3 separate regions of the Homo sapiens genome follow, and regions 2 and 3 are each linked to region 1. Evidence: promoter capture Hi-C in 16 types of primary human blood cells and fetal thymus (Javierre and others, 2016). All regions are on one chromosome and are shown on one strand. Each heading gives the region's core, a stretch centred on a gene start or on the middle of the fragment in contact. The rest is flanking DNA. Distances are from core to core; before and after follow the strand shown.

Region 1 (3,409 bases), core at 434-2,933:
GGGATAGGGGAAAATCTATATTTTTGTACAGTTTATTTTTTAATACCATAAAGCCTTAGGACAAAAGGGGTGGTTAGCTCTGCTTTTAGAATTAACTGAGATGATTTTTACCAGTGTGATTTTCATATCTGTGTTGGATTACTTGTTACATCAGTCATGATGATATTTGGTTGGCAAAGAGTTCGCTTGATTTTTTTCTGTCAAAGTATTTTTAATATTTTGGTAAACACTCTTCCATGAGGCCTCATCTTGTGAAGTTGAAATTACAGCATTATTTTTATTAGAGAAAACAAGTGAAAATGAGAAAAAGTCCTTCAAGCTTTGGAGTTAGTTAATGCTCAGCCTGTAAAACGATTACTAACAAATAATCCCAGAGGAAACTGGGTTCTGGTCTGGGCCAATTTTAAAATATGCCATTTTGGGCAAATCTTCTCATTTCTGGGTACCTCAACGTAATCCCTGATGAAAATAAAACTCTGAGATCGAGTTCGCCCTCCCTGACAGGGAGTTGTAAATACCAGGTACTTTTGAGAGCTTTCTAACTTAACGTGATTTTTTTCCATCAATAAAATGTCCATCTCTGTTTTAAAACATGATTTTAATTAAAAAATTCACTCTTTAATAAACAAGGCGTTTGACACCCTCCAAAGAAGTCTGCCTGAAGGCCCTGCCGTCTCTTAATTGTTATTATGTAACATCCTTTAAAGGGCTAAAGTATGAAGGTCAAGCGGGAACTGAAGCAGCAGTCAAGTCTTGTGATGCCGGGAGGAAGCGTCCAGTGAATCTCTAGTCTCTTATTTTCCAAAGTGGCAGCGAGAGGAGGGCGGCTCTGGGCGTTAAGGTGTTGGCCAGTTTAAAACCGCTCTGTGCTCCCAGGGAGCTTCTGTTCCTAAGGCTTCCCAAGCCAAGGCAGGAGGAAACGGCAGGGCTTTGAGAGCTGAGCAGCGGTGAGGTGGGAAAAGACCGAGGGCAGGGGTTTGGAAATACCGCATCCTGTGCTACACACAAAGAAAATGCTCACTTTGGGATGGGGCACTAGCAGTGTCGGCGGGTGCCAAGGGGCAACGACTAGAACTGGGAGTGCATTCTCCACAGGGTGACAGGCTCCTCTCTCCTGCGGCCAGCGCCACAAGCAGCGGGTTCCTGGCTGATCGGAGGGTGGGAACGGGGCTGCGGACCCCGTTGCGCTCCAGGAGGAGCGCCGGCCCTTACCTCGCCCGTCCGGCTTCATCAGCAGCGCGTGGCCCACCAGTGGGTAGGCGCGGGCCACCGTGGGGATGGGCCGCATCTGCTGCCATTTCCGCGCGTAGCTCGCCACCCTCTGCAGCAGGCTCAGGACCAGACTGGCGCCGGCCAGGGAAAGGGCACTCGCCGCGCCCCACAGCAGCAGCTTCTGCCACACGAGCCCCAGCCAGAGCCCCGCCATCGCCCCGGCTGGCGGCCGCGGGGTGCACTCCGGGAAAGTGCGGGCCCGCGGGGGCGTGGTGCGAGGCGGTGCCGGCCGCACACCGCCCACTTCCCCGCGCGGACCTGGCGCGCTCCCCGCTGCGGGGTCGCCCGGTCCCCGGAACGACGTTTCCCGCCCGGGCGGCGGCCAGAGAGGGCGCCACGGGGCTGTTCCTGCGCCCGGCCCGGCCTACGCAGCACCGCGGCCTCCACGCCCCAGCCGAAAGCGAAAGACCGGAAAACGGTTTCCGGGCCCCAGGGCGTAGTGATTGCACTGGAGGCCCGGAGGCTGCGCCGGGAGGAGGCCGGCGACACTTCCGGCCGCCTCCGGATGCGGGGTCAGGGGCGTCGGAAAGGTCACCGCGGCAGCCCGGCGCGCCCCAGCGGGGCTGTTCTGAGGGTGCTGCGAGGTTGCTCTACGTGCGGGATTCCGCGGGCGGGCAGCCTGCTCTGGAGAGGAAAGGAAGGCGCATCCGGCTCGGAGCCCAGCTCTGCTGCGCATCGCTCGCTCCCTGCGCAACTTGCAGCCCCGGGAGGCGGGGCGCGTCCTGGCTCCCGCGGGGTCACATGGAGCAGCGGGCGCTGTAATCCAGGGAGGCTTTGGGGACACGTTAGGGAAGTCAGCTACCCGTGTGTGTCCGCTGGCCCACTGGGACACTGGGAGCTCAATGAGGTGGTTATGAGCCAGGTATTTTCCAAAATACGCACCAGGCACCAGACCGAGGAAGCCGGAGCCCCGGAGAGCACGCAGGGGCGGGTGGGAGAGGAAGGCGGGCGAGGCTGCTCAGCGGGTGCCGGGAGACCGCAGCCGCGGGGTACTCGCAGAAGAGCCAAGACCTGCCACCCAGCCCGGGAAGGGAGGGAAGGGCCGCGAGAGGGTGCCCCATTTCAGCCTGGGGAGACGCGTGTGCTGGCCGCCAGTCTCTCTTCCCGGCAGAGGGCCCCAGTGCTGACCCCAGCCCCTTTTCCACGCTCGATGCTTCTTACAAAGTGGCCGGGCGAGGAGTGTCGCTCCCCGAGAGGCCAGGCCCTTCCTAAACACTAAAGTGCCAGGAAGATGAAACTGAATGTCCTGGATGCCCGCTTTGCTTAATTACTAATTACGTTCGTTCACTCGAAGCCACTGCATAAGTTGGCCACAGCCACCTGCAGGGCCTCTTTAGTGCAGAGAAAAACATGCCTAAGGCTTTTCTCCATTTGAATTTGTTTTAAGTCATCTGCATGGGCTGACGTGAAATAGCAAGTGAACAAAACAAGTTGCAGAACGGAGTGTGTAAAGTAATGCCTTCTTTTGGAGAAAAGGTTTCTTTCTCTACGGCTCCACTAATGTCTGCAAGTAAAAATACTGATCAGCTCTATGGAGTGGGAATGAAGATGGGGAACTTACGCTTTTTATTTCATTCACGTCTACATTGTTTAATCACTTTAACACTTTAAAAAATAAATATGTTCACTTAGTATCTTTAAGCAAGTCTCATGGGCTTTAGTTTCCTCCTCTCTAAAGGGTTGAGGCTGAGCTATAATAAGGTTAATTACAGCTATAAAAGTAAACAATTTGTCTACATACTGGGGATTCTAAAATAGGGGGAGGAAGGAAGGGGAGTAATGGTTGAAAAACTGTGTATTGGGTACTGTGTTCCCTATTCAGGTGAGGGGATCAATAGAAACTCAAACCTCAGCGTCAGGCAAATTTAACAAACCTGCACATGTGCTCTTGAATCTAAAATTAGAAAGAAAAAGGGTTTGTCTGTATCAGTCTCTGCTAACCTCTGTGGATAAAACCAGGCGGGTAACATACAACCCCTCCCCTCCAGAAGGAGAGAAGGGAGATTGCTCTGGGCAGCAGTGAGTCTCGGCCTGGGCAGAAATGGTCAGAAATGCTGCAGAGCCAGGAGGGGTAAAATGAGCTCAGGGGGCAGTGAGGTGCCCCTGCCTGGAGCACAGGGTCCCACGCAGTGACAGG
Region 2 (3,409 bases), core at 574-3,073, 3.8 Mb before region 1:
CACATAGTTTAGAATGTTTACATATGTCTGGCATGCCTGTAATCCAGCACTTTGAGAGGTGGAAGCAGGAGAATCACTTTAGCCCAGGAGTTCAAAATCAGCCTAGGCAACAAAAGGAGACCCCCATCTCTACAAAAAAATTAAGAAATTAGCTGGGTGTGGTGGTACGAGCCTGTGGTCCCAGCTACTCGGGAGTCGGAGGTGAGAGGATTGCTTGAGCCTACGAGGTCGAGGGTGCACTGAGCCACGATCATGTCACTGCACTCCAGCCTGAGCAACAAAGCAAGAGCCTGTCTCAAAAAAAACAAAACAAAAAAATGGCCCAATGCACCAGTGTCATGGCTGATAAGATAGTACCAGGGCACCCTCATTCTAGCATCAAGGCTGTGTGACAGCTCACCTCACCTTCTGACTAACCCAGTGCTTCCGTGCTAAGGGCCCCCTTAAATCTCTACTATCATTATGTGCTTGGCACAAAGGAATGATATATCTTAGATTTGGAAATGGAATTTTCTTCCCCAATCTTACTGTAGTCTAAGTACCCTTCACAGACCTTCTATTAATCCACAGCTGACTTAGCTTTAGTTCCTGGGTAAATAAAATATATGTGTTTTGCAAAGTACGATGTTGTAAGTCCAACTGCTTCTGAATCTAGCAGAGCTCAGTGAAACTCTTTGCCTACAGACATGCTCGTTTTTATTAATGTCACACTTGGTTTTCTCCATGTGAAAGACAGAATTTCTTTCATCCTATTTACCAATCCCTTCAGATCCTTGTGAGGAACCAACAGAACAGCTTTAAAAAATTAAAAGGTTTTTTTTCTTTCCCTTCACAAATAGGCACATGCTTACTTATACGGCAAGTTTAGAAAATCCACAATGCAAAACCATGTGGAAGGACAAAGAGAAAAAGACGCAGAAGGACTTCCTCTTCCAGCCAAGATGGACTTGCCCTCCCACCATGACCAACGAGAAAACTGAAACTGGATAGAATATTTGAGAAAACTGTTTTCAGAGATTGGAACACAGGCAGAACAGGACTGTGATATTTGAGAACAGGAAAACACTGGAGGCAAATCTCATACACACTTGTGTTTTCTGCCCAATGGCAGTTTCTTGACCACACGGAGAGAGGTAGAGACCTCCAGAAATGAGGCAATGTCACTGTCACTAAGCTGAGAGTCTTACAGTGCTAACATGTTGGGAGTTTATAGAATAAGGTACTGGAGAAGAGGGAACTACATACAGGTGAGGCCTCAAAAGAGTACGCAAAAGTTCTCTGCAGGTCTGTGGCCAAGGGCTGGGGGGAGTGCATGCAGCAGGCAGGCTCCACAAGGCCTCTGCAGAGTGGCTGGCACTTCTGAGGGCTGACTGGAGATGCCAGAGATCACACAAATTTGGGACACAGCAGAGTGGAGAGAACTCACTAAGTATACCTAGAACATGTGGCTGAGGCCCATGAGGATGAACCTTTCCTAGACTAAGAGTCACTGTCTAAGTCTACGAGCAAAACCCTAATAAATAAGCACAAACTAACAAAGGCCCAGGCTTGACAGGAGCAAAAGGGTGGTCAAATAATTTGACTAGGCATCAAGACATTTAACAGAAATAAGGTTAAAATGTTATGAAAATGAAAGACTGAATTTATAAGGAAGACTTAACAATCCTAAATGTGTACACATGACGGCTTCAAAATACTTTAAGCAAAAACTGCTCAAGTAGACAGATCTAGAATTACCGCTGGAGATTTTAACATAACTATCAATACACTGTAGCATTAGTAAAAAATCAGTAAGGACACAGAAGATATGCATAGTCACAAGCTCTACCAGTTGATCTAACAGACATCTAAAGAACACTGAACTGGCCGGGCACCGCGGCTCACGCCTGGATCCCGCCGAGGCGGGAGGATCACCTGAGGTCAGGAGTTTGAGACCAGCTTGGTCAACGTGGTGAAACCCTGTCTCTACTAAAAATATTTAAAAAATTAGCCGGGTGTGGTGGCAGGTGCCTGTAATTCCAGTTACTCCGGAGGCTGAGGCAGGAGATTCACTTGAACCTGGGAGGCGGAGGTTGCAGTGAGCCGAGATTGCACCACTGCACTCCAGCCTGTTGGGCAACAGCGAGACTCCATCTCCAAAAAAACAAACAAACAAACAAACAAAAAACCCTGAACCAACATCTGCAGAATACACATTCAAGTCTACATGGAAATTCACTAAGAAAGTATGTTCTCCAACTATACTATAAATGAATTAGAAATCAGCAACAATAACATACCTATAATATCTCTATGTAGTAGAAATTAAAAACAATATACTTTTAAATAACTCACGTGTCCATGAAAAGAAAAATCACAAGGAAAACTAGATGATATTTTGAATGGAATGAAAATGAAAACAAAATGTGTTGACTATAACTGAAACTAAAGTGGAATGAAGAGATCTAACTCCCTTCCTAAGAAGCAATAAAACAAGAGCAAAGTAAACTGAAAATAAGTTAAAGGGAGGAAAAAAATAAAAGACTGAAAATAAATGAAATAGAAAATGAAAAAAAGAGAAAATAAGTAATATTGAAACAGGCTTGTCCAACCTGAGGGCCACATGTGGCCCAGGCCAGCTGTGAATGCAGCCCAACACAAATTCATAAACTTTCTTGAAATATTATGAGATTTTTTTGCTTTTTTTTTTTTTTTGGCTTATCAGCTTATCGTTAGTGTATTTTATGTGTGGCCCAAGACAATTCCTCTCCTTTCATTGTGGCCCAGGGAAGCTAAAAGATTGAATACACCTGTACTAAACGATCATTAACGATCTAAAATAAATGATCTTGTAAAGAATTGAGAAACCTCCAGCTAGACTGACTGATCCAGGAAAACATAGCAAAAACACAAATTACCAATATGAAGAGACTGCAATACAGATGAGATTCTACGGACATTAAAAGCATATTAAAGGAATATTCTGAACAATTCTATGCCAATAAATCCAACAACTTAGATGAAATTTTCTTAAAAGACACAAATTGCCAAAACTGACACAACAGAAAAATCTGAAAATATCTCTTAAAAAATTTTAATTTTCCCACAAAAAACTAAAACCAAACCAAACAAAACCCTCCGGGTTCAGCTGACTTCACTGGTGAATTCTATCAAACATGTAAAGAACAACTCATACCCATCTCTACACAGCTATTTCCAAAAATAGGAAAGGAGACAGCACTTTCCATCTAATTTTGTGACACCCAGTATCACCTTGACACCAAAATCAAAAAAAGACATTACAAGAAAAGGATACAAAAGTCCAATATCTCCCATCAACACCAATATAGAAATCTTAAAAAAAAACAAAAAACACAAACACCTAGAAATCAAATCTAGCAATATCCCAAAGGACAACGCACCACAACCA
Region 3 (3,409 bases), core at 357-2,856, 3.3 Mb after region 1:
TATGAGAAAGCAGTAAATAGATGAAATATTTGGGAACGTGAAGCTATAGGTTTCAAATTCAAACTTCTGAAATAGGAAATTTCTTAAGTTTTTACTTAAGACCAGAGACTGTTTAGGGCCCATGTGCTGTGATTTCTGATTGATAAATGTAGCTGAAGTTGCCCATGTTTAGAGATTTAAAGGTTCAGTGTGGTTGGGTTGAACTGGAAAACAGACTTACTAAAATGCTTCTCTCAACTTCTGTTTTGTCATGTTTTTCTTCTAGACCCAACATGAGTGAAGTTTCCTGCAAGAAACGGGACGACTATTTGGAATGGCCAGAGTATTTTATGGCTGTGGCCTTCTTATCAGCACAGAGAAGCAAAGATCCAAATTCCCAGGTAAATGAATTTCACGGGAGAATGCTTAGATACTCACAGGCAAAGAGATTACTGCACATGAGCAGAAAGGGGAGACTCAGTGGACGCCTGTCAACTTAAAAGTGCAGGGTCGGTCTGCCTTTTGTGCTGCGTTTCTACAAGCTTAGTTCTTCCTGTGAGACAGAAAATTGTCACATGCCATTGTTAACTGCCTCTTGTGCCCCTTCTGGGACTGGGGGTGCACTTTCCTTGGCTTGTGGGTGCTGCCACAAAAAACCAGGCAAGGAGACCGACAGCTCTCAGCACCTGCAGCAGCTATGCGTCTGTTTTGAGTTCTGCAGTCCCCCTGGTTTTATTCCCTGCTTCCACAGCGGCAGACCAGCCAGTTGCAGGCACCAAGCCTTTGGGCATGTTTCCTTCTAGGTCGGCGCCTGCATCGTGAATTCAGAAAACAAGATTGTCGGGATTGGGTACAATGGGATGCCAAATGGGTGCAGTGATGACGTGTTGCCTTGGAGAAGGACAGCAGAGAATAAGCTGGACACCAAATACCCGTACGGTAGGGCAAGTTTTATGTCCCATTCTGCTTAGTGACATAGCCTGGTGAGTGCCTAATTAAGAAAGTTGGTCAGAAGGCATCATCTCCCTTTTGTCATCAACAACTGGAAAGAAAAGTATCCTACTGAACTACCCCAATTTCCTGGCCTTGTCTCTTAAGTTCCAAAGAGAGCCACGGAGAGAAGCATGGTAGTGGCCACACAGGCTGGCCCTGAGATCCAGGGCTCTGCTGCCTGTGCTGAGCCTGGCAGGCTTCACTGGCAACCTGCTGGCCTGCACCACACCAGTGCACTGATAGTCGGCGTCTCTGCAGAGGGTCACAGCCCCTTGCAGAGATAGCTGAGGGATGTGCATGGTGTCTCTGTGGGTTCCTTTTTTTACTACTTGGAAGCAGGGTCGGCTAACCAGGGGCTGGCTCGGGCTTTGGTCTGATGAGAAGCAGGCTTCATTCAGCCCATGTGCCTGATGAGAACATCTGGCTCAAGCTCATTGCTGGCAAGCAGGAATCAAACTGTGAACTAGACATCAGGAGATGGAGGATCCAGTTGCTTCCTCCAGTTACAGGGGATGCTGCAATTTCACAGTAGGCTGTGGTCAGACCAAAAGCCAGAAGTGAGGCTGGGCACGATGGCTCACGCCTGTAATCCCAACACTTTGGGAGGTGGAGACGGGCAGATCACCTGAGGTCAGGAGTTCGAGACCAGCCTAGCCAACATGGTGAAACCCCATCTCTACTAAAAATACAAAAATTAGCTGTGCGTGGTGGCAGGTGCCTGTAATCTCAGCTACTCGGGAGGCTGAGGAAGGAGAATCGCTTGAACTCAGGAGGTGGAGGTTGTAGTGAGCCAAGACTGCGCCACTGCACTCCAGCCTGGGTGACAGAGCAAGACTCTGTCTCAAAAAACAAAACAAAAACAAACAAACAAAAAACAAAACAAAAACAAAGAAAAGAAAAAGCTAGAAGTGTAGAACTGTAAACCTTTGGCTTGACTGTCTCTGGATTTTCCCCTTGAAATTAGGGAAGGCTGCTTCTTAGAGTTTGTTGCCTGTCTAAGCCCCAGGGAAAATTCCTTCAGAGATTGCCTGGGAGGGTCCAGCCATAGCTTTACTTTTCCTTGCATTCCTTGGAGAATATGCAAGCAATGCTGGAAAAGAGGCAAATCATGCTGGGTATGCAGGTTGCTGATTTTTGTAAGGTTAGGCCCTGTATTTTATGTCTGAGAATGAACAGACTGGCGCTGTTGGAAGTGAAGGGAGAGTAAGGCCATCCAAATGGGAAAGATTGTGTCTTCAGGCCAAGGCGTGATGTACGACCTTTCTTCTTTGTTGACTCTCCTGGTAGGTTTTCTTCTGGGTTTTTCTCATGAAGAATCCAAGTCAACATTTAGTCTAATTTATATATTTTTACTAATGTTCCTGGACCTCAATCATGTTAAATAAGCCCCATAAATTTCTTTCTAAATTGCCTAGGGGCAACTTCTCCATGTTTGAAAGAAAAAGTTAAGAGGTACCTGGAGAGAGAGGAGGAACTGAGGACTGCAAAGCAGTCTGGGTTTCCAGGATGTGAAAAGTAGTTTAGGGATGAAGGGGACCGAATCCTCAGATCCTTGATTTAACCTCACCCTCCCTCGTCGGAGTGGGAAGAGAGGATGGAGTTGGGGGAGGGTAAGACTGTCTTCTCAGCACAGCTTCAGAGCCGGTGGTAGTGGATGACTAATTAGAAAAATGCGCGGACTCAGAAACTGTCACCCTGATTTTGATTCTATAAGCTTTTGATGGTAAGAAAGAAGGGAAGTGATTAGTTGTTTTTAAGTCCATGCAAAGATAATTTTTCACAGTGCGGTTCAAAGTCCCCTATAAAAATGGTGAAAGTGGAGGGTCGATATGTTAAAGGTCTGCATTGAACTGTGTGACGGCCACAGTCAGTATGTCACCGAGTCTGGGCAGTGAAATATTGGCCCTGGGGCTGGACTTTGATATGGAGGAATTCTGGGGGGATGGCGGTCCGTCATACTCAAGCTGGTGCAAAAGATACCCGTGGTTGGACAGTGCGGAGGGGTCCTGGGTGAGCACTGAGTGGGCCTCCCAATGGGGCCTGTGCCTTCTTCAGTCACCCAGAGCCCCCAGCAGATCTTTAAGCAGTGACCTGGAAGCCAAGGGCCATGCAGTACATTTGCAGCACCTGCCCCACACCCCAGACTTCCCAGCTCTCCTGACTTCCCGTGTAGCTGATTTTGTTGGTTATGAGACACTGCCTTTTGTCCAAATTGAGGAGAGTACCTTTCAGAGCCCCTTTCTAGAAGGAATTTTTTTAAAAACCTGCATAGGTATTTGTCCAACTTCACCGATTGTTTTTTATTGAATAGCTCCTGAGCTCCTGGGCACTGGTTGTCTGTCTGCATTATTTTTTATTATCCATATGATACCTCTAGGTTTTCAAAGCTCTTTGCTCTTACTTATCAATTATTCATTTATATGTAGCTGTGTTAGAA

What was found. The method cuts DNA at HindIII sites, captures the fragments that hold promoters and counts their contacts. A CHiCAGO score of 5 or more calls a contact.
Region 2: a fragment that was not itself captured here is called in contact with the fragment with the promoter of CYP4V2 in region 1 in 1 of 17 cell types (M0 macrophages); the score reaches 6.6 in M0 macrophages.
Region 3: a contact is called between a fragment that was not itself captured here and the fragment with the promoter of CYP4V2 in region 1, in 1 of 17 cell types (activated CD4 T cells). The highest score is 6.1, in activated CD4 T cells.

Annotation. Positions count from the first base shown.
Region 1 is chr4:186,189,841-186,193,249 of GRCh38, reverse strand. CYP4V2 (cytochrome P450 family 4 subfamily V member 2) reads right to left here and starts at 1,683. Exons shown (of 11, transcript NM_207352.4): 1 at 1,213-1,683. The coding sequence starts at 1,426. It overlaps FLJ38576 (a long non-coding RNA gene), which reads left to right and starts at 1,760. Exons shown (of 1, transcript NR_046264.1): 1 at 1,760-3,409. RefSeq lists a silencer at 1,357-1,886. The HindIII fragment of the contact is 5,614 bases long and covers 322-3,409 here.
Region 2 is chr4:189,945,597-189,949,005 of GRCh38, reverse strand. All of the region lies in intron 2 of FRG1 (FSHD region gene 1), which reads right to left. Among named protein-coding and RNA genes, the nearest start is that of FRG1, 6.4 kb to the right of the region's middle. The HindIII fragment of the contact is 3,672 bases long and covers 1-3,409 here.
Region 3 is chr4:182,912,432-182,915,840 of GRCh38, reverse strand. It overlaps DCTD (dCMP deaminase), which reads left to right. Exons shown (of 6, transcript NM_001921.3): 2 at 266-380; 3 at 783-918. The coding sequence starts at 273. Among named protein-coding and RNA genes, the nearest start is that of DCTD, 3.2 kb to the left of the region's middle. The HindIII fragment of the contact is 2,165 bases long and covers 524-2,688 here.